3 separate regions of the Homo sapiens genome follow, and all the other regions are linked to region 2. Evidence: promoter capture Hi-C in 16 types of primary human blood cells and fetal thymus (Javierre and others, 2016). All regions are on one chromosome and are shown on one strand. The core of a region is centred on a gene start or on the middle of the fragment in contact, and the rest is flanking DNA. Distances in the headings are between cores, read along the strand shown.

Region 1 (4,324 bases), core at 378-2,877, 560 kb before region 2:
TCCTGGGCTCAGGTGATCCTCTCATCTCAGCCTCCCAAGTAGCTGGGACTACAGATGTGTGCCACAAGGCCCAGCTAATTTTTTGTGGTTTTTGTGGAGACAGGGTTTTACCATGTTGCTCAGGCTGGTCTCGAACTCCCCAGCTCAAGCAATCCATCTGCCTCAGCCTCCCAGAGTGCTGGGATTACAGGCGTGAGCCACTGCGCCCAGCCTAAAAATTTATATCTTAATTGCATGTTTGTGATGGGTTGAATTCAGCTGTATCTCTGGACACAGCTGGAAGAAGCAGCTGGAACATGCTGATCTCATGGAATAAGGAAAAGAGAGAATGGGGGAGCCTCTTAAAGCTTCTGCTTGGATGTCTCACATGTCACTTCCACTCAAATTCCCTTGGCCAAAGCAAATCATATGGCTATGCCTGACTTACGTGGGGTGGGGATGTAGAATCCTTCCATAGGGCAAGTCGGTAAAATTCCATCCTTTTATAGTGTATGTAAAACTCTAGAAATAGATATAATTTTTATATAGTTTATTAGGGTACTGAATCTTATTTCTTCATGCAAAAATATGTCTTAGAGGTCTTTCCATATTATACAAATAGATCCATCTCTTTTTAATTTAATTTTTTAATTTTTTTAACCCCAGGGCAGAAGGCACCATCTCCTTTTTATTTTATTTTTATTTTTATTTTTCAGATGGAATCTCACTCTATCGCCCAGGCTGGAGTGTAGTGGCATGATCTCGGCTCACTGCAACCTCCGACTCCTGGGTTCAAGTGATTCTCCTGCCTCAGCCTCCCAAGTAGCTGGGATTACAGGCGCCCACCACCACGCCTGGCTTTTTTTTTTTTGTATTTTTAGTAGACATGGGGTTTCATCATGTTGGCCAGGCTGGTTTCAAACACCTGACCTCAAGTGATCCCCCAGCCTTGGACTCCCAAAGGGTTAGGATTACAGGCGTGAGCCACTGTGCCTGGCCAATTCTTCCATTTCTTATTTGAGAATGTCAAAGAATGCATCTCCAATCAGCCAGTGGAATATTGCATTTTATTTATTTGTTAATGGCTTGCAACCCATAAAATAATCCATACATTATATCAACATGAATGACCCAAATGTATTGGTTATTGCAGCTGGATGGCATGCATAGCCTAGGTCACAGGTGGATGGAAGACAGACAAAACCATTTTTACTCTCTGAATTCCTCCTCCACTACCCCATCACTGATGTTGTCTCCCTCCCAGCCATCTCCCTTATTTGAGGAGCAATGCATGGGGAATAGGTAGTGGGCGCTGCAGTGCATACTGTGGTGTGCCACCCAGACCCCCATCCCCAGGATGGGGCATTTATTCCCCCAGCTGCTGGGAGCATTGGCTGCTGGCAGCTCTCAGCTGAGTCCCTATGACTGTTCGAGGTGGACATTCCAAGGTCCTGTCCTCTTGCCATCCCAGCTCTATATTCCCCATGGCATTAGCCAAGGCCTCTGCTGAGGTTGCACTGCAGTTTGACTTTTCCTTTCCACAGATGTAATCCCGACAGCACTCTGCAATAGACTTCCTGACTTCAAATCTCCATATTGGAGTCTGATTCCTCGGGACCTGACTCACAACAGCCCACCACAGGCTCTGAAGTCAGACAGAACTGGGTTTCAGTCTTATCCCAAACACCAACTAGATATGTAATCCTAGAGATGATAAGTCCACTATACACCTTGTATGCCTCGGGTTTTTAATATCAACTGAATGTTGATAGTTTCTTGGAAACTGCAACTTTAAGTGAAATGATGTATGATGAAACCATTTTTTCCCTCATAATCATAATGGAAGGACATTACTTGAGGACGTGCTGCACATCATTTTGCTTAAAGTCGCAGTTTCCAAGAACCCATCGAAGAAGTTAAGTGAGGACTTACTATATACACTTCTTGCAGTTACTGTGAGGATGAAATAACACATGTAAAACACTGAGCACAGTATCTGGTACGTACTAGGTGCTCAAAACAAGTGCTAGCATGTTAGTAGTACTATTACATTAAAATGATAATCTTGGTAGAGTAATTAGATGATCCAGGACAGAGGAGATGGAGAGATTTTGCTAAAATTCATTCTCTCTTTTCCCCTCCTTGCCTGCATTTCCAGTGCCCTCACGCCCCGCTGAAACAGAAATAGACCTGTTGTGCTAACTTATTTCCGGAAGATGGCGCCAGCAGATAACGCTGCGGACGAGTCCCTTTGGTTTTCTTTTTCTTTTTCTTTTTCTTTTTCTTTTTTTTTGAGATGGAGTCTCGCTCTGTCGCCCAGGCTGGAGTGCAATGGCACGATCTCGGCTCACTGCAACCTCCGTCTCCCAGGTTTGAGGGATTCTCCTGCCTCAGCCCCCCAAGTAGCTGGGATTACAGTCATGTGCCACCACGCCTGGCTCATTTTTGTATTTTTAATAGGGGGGGGGTTCACCATGTTGGCCAGGCTGGTCTTGAACTCCTGGCCTCAAGTGATCCGCCTACCTCGGCCTCCCAAAGTGCTGGGATTACAGGTGTGAGCCACTACGCCTGGCCAGGAACAATTTTCACTATTCACAGATTACATATCAATTTCACATGTGTTATCTCATTTGATTCTCCTTCACCAACCATTTACCAAATGCTGATTATTCCATCTTTACTGTTTTATCCCTTCGCCAACAAATGCTTACTGAGCACTTACTCTAGCCAAAGAGCATCTTTAAATGCCTTCTCAAGCGCAATGACTAAGAAACAAAAAAGGAAATAGAATTCTAAGCCTCTGCTGGAGAGCTGGACTTTCCAGAGATGAATAAGACAAGTTCCAGCCACTGATTTCTTTCTGGTTCTGGGTTGATGTCAACTTGTGCTCTGGAAGGAGGCTGCTTTCATAAAGCAGAAGAAGCTTAATTCAAGTGAAACTGAGTCAGAAAGAAAGCAATTCCTTTGCAGGAGCAGCTAGGGTGCATCTCAGAGACTGTCTGCAGTACTTCCCAAGGGCTATTGATCTGAGAGCAGAGCATTCGGTCCTTGGACTGGTGAAAATTGCTGAGCAGGCAAAAGAAGAATAAAACCCGTAAAGGGAATGGAGAAAAGATGTTGAAGGGCTTCCGGGTAGGGAAGGTTAGCTGGACTGCATTCAGGAGCTCCAGACAGAAGTGACTCTGCAGTTCCTTGAGCTTCGCAGGCAGGCCTGCAAGCAAACCTGGAAACCACGAGACCAGGGCCTGGCGATCCATTTCTTTGGTGGGGACAGAGGTGCTCACCCTCAGCCTTCTCACGCTCACTCCAGAACTGTGACGGGGTGAGCTCACGTGACAATCACCTCAGCAGTGCAATTTTAGGGGTGTCAAGAAGGGCTCCTTCTATGGCTGAAATCTCTTTCAACAGTTACTGTCTGGTGCCCCAAATGCCACCACTGGTGTCCTTTATTTCTTTTCTTTTCTTTTCTTTTCTTTTCTTTTCTTTTTTTTTTTTTTTTTGAGGCAGGGTCCCACTCTGTCATCTAGACTGGAGTGCAGTGGCGCGATCTGGGCTCACTGCAACCTCTGCCTCCTGGGTTCAATCAATTCTCCAGCATCAGCCTCCTGAGCAGCTGGGACCACAGGTGCATGCCACCGTGCCAGGCTAAGTTTTATATATTTTTGTAGAGATGAGACTTCACCATGTTGGCCAGACTGGTCTCGAACTCCTGACCTCAAATGATCCTCCCGTCTCGGCCTCCCAAAGTGCTGAGATTACAGGCACGAGCCACTGCGCACAGCCCATTAGTGTCCTTTAATATGAATATTGCAAGAGTTAAAAACAGGACTTCTATAAAGAAATGTATAATTATATTGGCTTGGAGAAAATTCTGCAAGTGTACACATCAGTTGTTAACAGGGGTTATCGTGAGCCAGAAAGTGTGGAGTAAGTAAGGGAGATTAATGGAGGTCAGAAAAGGAAGAAGAAAAGGATAGATAAGAAAAAAAAATCACACTTAAAAAGGGTGCTCTTGATTAAAAGAATGTGTATTATTTGTTATGATTTATGAAAAAGGTTACTTCTATTGCCCATACGCGTTAAGACAGGCATGAAAGATGCCCAGTAAAATATTAACAGTAGTTATTATATGCTGATGAGATTTCAAAGAATGTTACTTTCTTCCTTATAACTTTATATATTTAAATTTTTATAGGGAGCATTTAAATCAGGAAAGTGGGAAAAAGCAAAATTAAGAACATTATTGCAAGCCAAATGAGAAAAGCAATAACAAAAAAATAACAAAAGTAAAACAAAATTTGAGCCATTCAAATTCTAACTTCTCTATTCCGTGGCTGTGGGACTC
Region 2 (4,545 bases), core at 696-3,195:
CAGTGAGCCAAGATCAAAATAGCTTGGCCTCCCAAAGTGCTGGGATTACAGGCGTGAGCCACCACGTCTGGCCTAAAATGCCCATCTCTTGATATGACTATATATGTGTGTATTGGCTGGGTTTGTGGCTTTTGGAATAAACTTCTGTTGTTTAAAACAAGTTTAGGGTTGGGCACGGTGGCTCGCACCTGTAATCCTAGCACTTTGGGAGGCCGAGGCAGGAGGATCACTGGAGCCCAGGCGTTCGAGATCAACCTGGGCAACATAGTGAGACCCCATCTCTATTTAAAACTAAAGAAAAAAAAAGGAATAAAAATAAACTGAGTTTATAGTAATTTATTAGAGCTGCCACAGGAAACTAACATTGGGGTAAGGGAATGAGTCCAAGGTTGGGAACTGAAATAGACACCCAGCCCTAACCAGGGGTGAGGGGTTAGTTTTGTGATAAACTGAGCAACTGAGTCTCCAACAACTTCATGTGATCTCCCCATTAACCCCCAGCATCCAGCATTTTCATCCAACAGGCATAGATAGCTGTTTTGTGTTTCTTTGTGTGCTTTTTAAGACGGTCTCGCTCCGTGGCCCAGGCTGGAGTGCAATGGGACCATCACAGCTCACTGCAACCTCAAATTCCTGGGCTCAAGCAATCCTCCCACCTCAGCCTCCTGAGTAGCTGGGACCACAGGCCTGAGCCACCAAGTCAGCTAGTTTTTAAAATTATTTCTTATAGATACTGAGTCTCACTGTGTTGCCCAGGTGAAAATAAATTTAGAAATTTAAACTTTAAATGTAATAATTGCACCAGGTGAGATGGCTCACTCCTGTAATCTCAGCACTTTGGGAGGTGAAGGCTGGCAGATCACTTGAGGTTAAGATTTGGAGAGGTCAGATCACTTGAGGACAGGAGTTGGTCAGCCTGGCCGACATGGTGAAACCCCATCTCTACTAAAAATACAAAAATTAGCTGGGTGTGGTGGTGCGTGCCTGTAATCCCAGCTACTCGGGAGGCTGAGGCAGGAGAATCGCTTGAACCTGGGAGGCAGAGGCCTGCAGTGAGCTGAGATCGCGCCACTGCATTCCAGCCTGGGCAACAGAGCGAGACTATGTCTCTAAATAAATTAATTATATTAATTAATTAATTTAATAACTGCAGAGCGTGGTGGCTCACACTTGTAATTGCAGCATTTTAGGAAGCCGAGGCAGGAGGATCGCTTGAGCCCAGGAGTTTGAGACCAGCCTCGACAACGAAGCAAAACCCTGTCTCTACAGAAATAAAAATAAAAAAAATTAGCCAGGTGTGGTGGTGCCCGCCTGTGGTCCCAGCTACTCGGGAGGCTGAGGTGGGAGTATTGCTTGAGACCAGAAATTTGAGGTTGCGGTGAGCTGCGACGGTGCCATTGCACTCCAGCCTGGGCGACAGAGAGGGACCCCCCCCCAACTAACTAATAAATAAATAAATACAATAATTATTCCTAAGGAAACTTCATCTCATGTCCCTCTACGTGTGCCAACGTAATGAACCCCTGAGCTCATAAACTAGCTTTTGGGAAAGGTTGATCTCCTCTTGTCTCTCGCATTTTACAGATGAGAAAACTAAGACTCAGATGGCAGAGGTGTCTCCGAGGCTCCAAGAAAGATCAAATGATGCTGTGACTACTGCTCCAATTCTCCAGGGCTACATTTATCCTCTTCCAGCCTCCAGCAAATACTTTCACAAGCGCTTTTTCCCAGACCAGAGCAAGACGCGGAGGCTCGGGGAGAGGAGGCGGCCAGGAGAGCGCAGAGGAGACGAGCGAGTTCGGGGACCGTCACGCGCCAGAGGCAGCAGCGGCCACGAGGGGGAGCGCGCGGGCTCCGGAGCCCAAGCACGCCTCAAGCTGTGGGACTCGCGGGCAGTGCGCATGCGCTCGAAGGGAGGTGGAGGCGCAGGTCCGGGCGAAGGGCGATACGGTGGCCGAGAGGGCACGGAGAGGAGGACGGTGGCTGACGAGATCCGGCATGGAGCATCTGGAGCGCTGCGAGTGGTTGTTGCGGGGGACGCTGGTGCGGGCGGCCGTGCGGCGCTACCTGCCCTGGGCCCTGGTGGCCTCCATGCTGGCGGGCTCCCTCCTCAAGGAGTTGTCCCCGTTGCCCGAGAGCTACCTCAGCAACAAGCGCAACGTCCTCAACGTGTGAGTGCACCCCGGTCCTCCGCTGTCCCCGCCCGAGCCGGCCCGCTGTCGCCTCGCCCAGAGAAGCCGGTGCTAGCTGCCGTGGTGGACGAGTCATTGGAGGGGAGGTCCTCCTCCTAGCCGTGACAGCAGCATCTGCACGCGTGTCACGCCTGGGAGGCCCCGGGGTAGCTGGTGTCACTAGCAGTTAGTGTTTGCAGACCCACTTTGGGCAGCATGAGCTTGACTGGGCAGGTGGTGACAAGCGGGGTCGTGTGTGTCTCTGTATATGTAGGGGTGTGGAATGGGGTGGGGATGAACCAGCCCCTGTCACCACTCCCCCGCCTCCCCTTGGAGTTAGGAGCTGACCCCTGCCCTGTTTGGGAGATGCCATCTCACCTCTGTCCTGCCTGCCTGTGGCAGACCCCGCGCAGACCCCACCCTGCGTCAGATCAGATCCCTCCAGCGCGTGACAGAATCCCTTTACGACCTGTGGAAGAGCCTCGCCCCAGCCTGTGACAGGCAGAGCCCCCGCCTGTGAGATACTCACAGAGGGCTGGAACCCCCTAGTCTGTGCCCTTTCCCCTGGATCTCCTTGGATCATCTCAGCCACTCAGAATGCATGGCAGTGGCCCAGAAAAGCAATCCCAGCTGGGCGCTTTGAGACATCTCCTTAACTCCACCCATCCACTCCTTTGCTTGCTTACTTGCTTTTTTCAAAACTCCCGGTTAGTAAGTTTATTGCACAAAAACTCTGTTGCGGTCATAAAGGGAAACTCTGAAAGATAAAACTGCTCCCTTGATGTGAGCCTAAGTGTTTTCCAGAATAAGTGTCTCTGGCGTGTCCTGAAAGTCAGCCCAACTTTGGTTATCTGCTTAAAACCCTGGTTCCTTTCACAGGCAGCTTCCTCAAATGCCTGACGGGTCTTGGCTCTGGCAAGATCTTCCTTATCAGTCCCAGTGAAGATTTTAGTGACAGGCCTGGGGGTGGTGCCTGAGAATCCATTGGAACCTAGAAAAAAGTCCTTCTGTCCTTGGTCCACCTTCCTTCCTCACCCACCCTGAGAGGCTGGGCTAAGAATAGATCATGAGAGTGGTAGTGGCCCCAAGTCTCTGTCCTGGGTTTAGGTCAGCCACCTTTCGTGAACGCTGGGGAGGCGGACAAGGCAGCTGCTGCTTCCTCTGGCCTAGGTGAGCTGGGAGCCAAGTGGCCTGGCTGACAACACACCCCTGTTGTTTGAAGGTAGTCATGGATCCTGGAGTTTTGTTCCAAGCCTCTGTGCTGATTAATGAGAGGGAACTAGTGAATCCTGGGATATAGAAGGGACCTTAAAAATCATTTGGTCCTCTCAGCTCTGTTTGATAGCTGAAGAAACTGAGGCCTGGAAAGGTAGGAGGTATAGTAAGTTAAGTAAGAGTGAAGATTTGAACCCGTAAGAGTGAAGATTTGAACCCCGGTCTTTTGGCTTAAAGTAAGACCTTGTTGCAAGACTGTTTCTGCCGTTAGGAAAGAACCAGGCTGGGCGCAGTGGCTCACACCTGTAATCCAGGCACTTTGGGAGGCCAAGGCAGGTGGATCACTTGAGGTCAGGAGTTCAAGACCAGCCTGGCCAACGTGGTGAAACCCCATCTCTACTAAAAATACAAAAATTAGCCTGGCGTGGTGGTGCGTGCCTGTAATTCCAACTACTGAGGAGGCTGAGGCAAGAGAATCACTTGAACCTGGGAGGCGGAGGTTGCAGTGAGCTGAGATCATGCCACTGCATTCCAGCCTGGATGGCAGAGTGAGACTTTGTCTCAAAATAAATAAATAAATAAAAATAAAAATACAAAAATTAGCCGAGTGTGGTGGTAGGTGCCTGTAATCCCAGCTACTCCGGAGGCTGAGGCAGGAGAATTGCTTGAACCCGGGAGGCGGAGGTTGCAGTGAGCCGAGATCGTGCCACTGCACTCCTGGGTAATAAGAGTGAAAACTCTGTCTCAAAAAAAAAAAAATCATTTGGTCCCCCCAGCTCTGTTTAATAGCTGAAGAAACTGAGGGCTGGAGAGGTAGGAGGTATAATAAGTTAAGTCAGAGTCAAGAGTTGAACCCGTGTCTTTGGCTTAAAGTAAAGCTCATTGTTGTAAGACTGTTTCTGCCATTAGGAAAGAACCAGGCCAGGTGCATGGCTCATATCTATAATCCCAGCACTTTGGGAGGCTGAGGCAGGATAATTGCTTGAGGCCTGGAGTTCAAGACCAGTGGGGGCAACATAGCAAGGCCCCATCTCCACAAAAATAATAATTAAAAAAAATTAGCCAGGCACATTGGTACACACCTGTAATCCCAGCTATTTGTGAGGCTGAGGCAGGAGGATTGCTTGAGCCCAGGAGTTTGAGGCTGCAGTGAGGTGTG
Region 3 (4,745 bases), core at 698-3,197, 540 kb before region 2:
CTGAGATGAGTCTCCTTATGAGGGCTCTGCTTGATGCCCGATATATTAAGAAGTGTCTGCATTTTAACTGTTGGAATCACAAACAATTTCTCACCTTATATGAGCTCTTTAGCCTACTGCTTTCCAGCAGATTCCCCCCCGGCCTTGGGTACTTTTTCTCACATATGTGTAAATCAGTACACAGCCAAAGACTCAAGAGGGCCCCTTGGAGATCTCTGAGGTTGAGAACTCTGGACTCCTCTTCAACACTCTTACCTGTAAATTCTAGCCACTTTGGCCATTCTGCTTGAGTTTCCCTTCTATGAGCTGCATTGTGAAAACTGTCTCCACACAGGAAGGGGTGATCTTAAGGCTCATCTCATTTTTTTTCTCTCAGGAATCATAGTCTTCATTGTCTGTTGTCCAGTATATGGAAAGCATTGTTTCATATCATTTTGCCTGTTTTCCTAATTGTTTAAGGGAGGATCAATCTGGTCTCTATTACTCTATCATTACTGACAGCAGAAGTCTTTGCCCAACACTTTTGAGAAAAAAATTATACATCTGGAAGATCTGAAAGTCTGAAAAACACTGCTATAGACCTGTTAACTCTCTTCAAAACCGTCCCGGGAAAAAAATCCTTTATAATGTAGGATTTGACCAATCTAGATCAAAATTGCACAATTTCCCCTCCTTGAAATTAAGGACCAAGAAGGGTGGGGAAAGGAGAGAGAAAAAGGAGAAAGGAAACATGAAGGTGTTCTCTCCTTGCTATGGTTTGAGTGTGTGTGTCTCCCCTGAATTTATAAGTTGGAACCTAAGACCTGTTGTGATAGTATGAAGAGGTGGGGACTTTAGGAGGTGATTAAGACATAAGGGATCTACCTTCATGAATGGGCTTAGTGCCCTTATAAAAGAACTAGCTAGGCCCTTTTAGACCTTCCATCTCTTCTGTCATGTGAGGACACAGTATTCATCCTTTTTTGCCCCCTTCCACCATGTGAAGATGCAGCAAGAAGATGCTATCATGAGGCCGGACGCAGTGGCTCACACCTGTAATCCCAGCACTTTGGGAGGGTGAAGCGGGCGGATCACTTGAGGCCAGGAGTTCGAGACCAGTCTGGCCAACACAGCAAAGCCCCATCTCTACTAAAAATACAAAAATTAGCCAAGTGTGATGGCCTCTGCCTGTAATCCTAGCTACTTGAGAGGCTATGTCATGAGAATCACTTGAACCTGGGAGGCGGAGGTTGCAGTGAGCTGAGATCATGCCACTGCACTCCAGCCTGGGCAACAGGGTGAGAGTCCATCTCAAGCAACAAAGAAGGTGCCATCATGAGAGCAGAGAGCAGCCCTTACCAGACGCCAAATTTGCTAGTATCTGTATCTTGATCTTGGACTTCCCAGCCTCCAGAACTGTGAAAAAATAAATTTATCTTCTTTATAAATTACCCAGTCTCAGCTATTTTGCTATAGCAGCACCAATGAACTTGGATACCCCCCAGCACCAAGAAATTCATTCTGCCTGATTTGGAGGCAGCATAATTGTTGACAGCACAGGCACAGGTGCTAACTGCCTGGGTTCAAGTCCCAGCTCTGCCATTTGTAAGCTTTCCTTGGGCTGGTTACTTGACCACTCTGTGCTTCAACCTCCTCATTTGTAGAATATGATGATGGCACTATTAGTGCCTACCTCTTAGGTACTAATATTAGGTACCTTCTTAGGGTTGTTATGAGAGTTAAATAAATTAATGTTTTTTTGTTTGTTTGTTTTTGAGACGGAGTCCCGTACTGTCATCCAGACTGGAGTGCAGTGGTGTGATCTCGGCCCACTGCAACCTCTGTGTCCTGGGTTCAAGCGATTCTCCTGCTTCAGCCTCCCAAGTAGCTGGGATTACAGGCACACACCACCAGGCCCAGCTAATTTTTTTTCTATTTTTAGTAGCGACGGGGTTTCACCATGTTGGCTAGGCTGGTCTCAAATTCCTGACCTCATGTAATCCACCTTCCTTGGCCTCCCAAAGTGCTGGGATTACAGGTGTGAGCCACCATGCTTGGCCAGTAAATTAATGTTTATAAAATACTAAGGACAGTGAATGGTACATAGCAAGCACTATGTAAGTGATTGATTAAAAGTATGAGTTTTTTTTTCATTAAAGAAGTAATACATATTTAGTGCAGATATAGAAGTTCACCAGGGTGGAGAAGTGTGGCCTGCTGAAGCTGTCTGTCTTCCAAGATACCTCTTAGGTTGGATTTCCTTAATGCAGCATATTTGCTCAAGCCTAGCTCTCAATCTTGCAGGTGTGGGAGAAACAAAGCTTGCCATGGTGGCTGGATCAGATCTATCAAAGGCAACTTCCATCTCTATAGTACCAACCACTGGGAGGCCCCAGCACGACTGTGTATTCAGCAATGCTCTCTGCCCAGTGAAAAATTTACACCTTCTTTATTGGGCAAAAATAACCACACAAAACTGGTCGCCTCTGCTTTCTACAACTCAAGTGGCCATGTAAAGTTTTCTTTAACAAACATGTTTTATAACAACTAGTTAAACAGTTACGAGTTTTATGGTTTAAAGATTGTATTTACAATCTGTGTAGTCCTACAGCAGTATCTCTCAGAAAGCCACGTGTCTTCTCATTAAATATTGCTGAACATGAGGAAAAATGAACAACTGTAATATAATCAGGAAAAATTTATATATATATTATTTCTTACTTTTTAAAAATTATGGTAAAATACTCATAACATAAAACTTACCATCTTAACAATTTTCAAATGTACAGTTCAGTGGTATTAACTGCATTCGTACTATTGTGCCATCGCCACCATCCATCCAAAAACCTCTTTTAGTCTTGCAAAACTGAAACTCTGTACTTATTTGACAATATCTCCCCATTCTTCCCTCCACCCAGCCCCTGGCAACCCCCATTATACTTTCTGCCTCTGTGAATTTGACTAATCTAGGTACCTCATATAAGTGGAATCATAAGGTATTTGTCTTTTTGTGACTGGCTTATTTCACTTAGCATTGTGTCTGCAAGGTTCACTTACGTTGTAGCATGGGTCAGAATTTGCTTCCTTTCTAAGACTGAAGAATGTTCCATTGTATGCATGTATCACACTCTGTTCATTCATTTATTCATCAATGGACACTTGGGTTGCTTCCACTTTTGGCTATTATGAATAATGTTGCTGTGAACATTGGTGTACACATATCTCTTTAAAACTCTGTTTTCAATTCTTTTGAATATATACCCAGAAGGCAAATGGCTGCATCATATGGTAATTCTGTTTTTTTAATTTTTTGAGGAACTGCCATTCTGTTTTCCATAGTGGCCGCATCATTTCACATTCCCAAAAACAGTGCCCAAGGGATCCAATTTCTCTACATCCTATACAACACTTGTTTTTTTTTTTTTTTTGACTTATTGATAGTAGCCATCCTAAAGAGTGTGAGATGATATCTCATTGTGGTTTGATTTGCATTTCCCTCATGATTCCTTTCTTTTTTAAGAAACAAATAAGAAATAGCTTACATACAGTTATAAGATAAAGTGCCATATCTTACCAGCATGGCAGAATGAAATAGCACACATGCATATACCTGTGAAACCGCCACCAGATTAAAATATAGAACATTCCCAGCATTCCAGAAGGCTCCCTCATTCCCCTCCCAGTCAGTAAGCTCTAAGATAGCCACTCTTCTGGGGCACGTATAGTTTTCATCTATCCTGTGGCTTTTGCCCCACCAGACCAATTTCCAACAACGCCCTTGGCATATTGTTCTATTACAGTCACAGCAATGTTAACATTCTACATAACCTTCTCTTGCTTATCTTGCTGAGAGGGCAATTTCAGTGCAGTATTTAAAATTCTCCAGGTACTTATGTCCTCCAAATTATTTCCCGTCTCTTACAAGTCTTCTTATCAAATTCAATTGTGACTTCACACTTCTGTAACCAAGATTTGTTTGATTCTACACAAGTTTAGCAGCTGATGTCTTCCCTCAGAAGTGGAATTACATTTACCAAGCTCATGAGACTGAGATGGAAAATCGGAATGTCAATGTATTCATTGATAACATGAAATATAATTGTTAAGCAGACTGACATCTACTCAGCAAAACCAGCACATTCTTTCCTGAAGGCAGATCCAAGTGAAAAGCCAAATTACACAGAGGGTGGCTTGGTGAGCATTTAATCATTCAACATGATCTACTAAAAGACAATTACATGTCAGGGACTGTGCTGGACACTAGGTGGAGAATAGTGAATAAGAAAGACAGGGCTCTGTGCTTGTGGATCCTAAAGTGTAGGAAAAAGACAAGTCCTGAACATATAATCAGACTTGTAGGTTAAAGAAAAAAAAAAACTGTGTATCTTAGACTCTGCTTTCCCTAGATCCACTAAAATAACAGTACAGGGATTTTTTTAAAAGGCAGTACATTCAGACAGGGGTCAGCAAACTATGGTCCGCAGGCCAGATCCAGCCTGTTGGATCTGGCTAAGAAAATAGTCCACATATTGTCTGTGGCTGTTTTCATACTACAATGACAGAGTGGAGTGGATGCAATGGAGACCATATGGCATCCAAAGCCAGGAATGTTTACTACCTGGCTACTGAGAAAATTTGCCAATCCCGGTTCTTGAGCAGCACCGTTCAATGGAACTTTCTGCAGTGATGGAAATGTTCTGCACTGTCTGATGCAGTAGCCAGCCACTACCTTTGTGTGGCTATAGAGCACTTGAAACGTGACTAGT

The links. The method cuts DNA at HindIII sites, captures the fragments that hold promoters and counts their contacts. A CHiCAGO score of 5 or more calls a contact.
Region 1: a contact is called between a fragment that was not itself captured here and the fragment with the promoter of FITM2 in region 2, in 1 of 17 cell types (naive B cells). The highest score is 5.7, in naive B cells.
Region 3: a fragment that was not itself captured here is called in contact with the fragment with the promoter of FITM2 in region 2 in 1 of 17 cell types (naive B cells); the score reaches 5.6 in naive B cells.

The regions. Positions count from the first base shown.
Region 1 is chr20:44,865,625-44,869,948 of GRCh38, reverse strand. No RefSeq gene overlaps it. Among named protein-coding and RNA genes, the nearest start is that of YWHAB, 18 kb to the left of the region's middle. The HindIII fragment of the contact is 2,555 bases long and covers 350-2,904 here.
Region 2 is chr20:44,308,602-44,313,146 of GRCh38, reverse strand. It overlaps FITM2 (fat storage inducing transmembrane protein 2), which reads left to right and starts at 1,945. Exons shown (of 2, transcript NM_001080472.4): 1 at 1,945-2,171. The coding sequence starts at 1,999. RefSeq lists enhancers at 1,893-2,042, 1,639-2,368, 2,333-2,422, 2,369-3,098. The HindIII fragment of the contact is 15,971 bases long and covers 1-4,545 here.
Region 3 is chr20:44,849,397-44,854,141 of GRCh38, reverse strand. No RefSeq gene overlaps it. Among named protein-coding and RNA genes, the nearest start is that of YWHAB, 34 kb to the left of the region's middle. The HindIII fragment of the contact is 711 bases long and covers 1,592-2,302 here.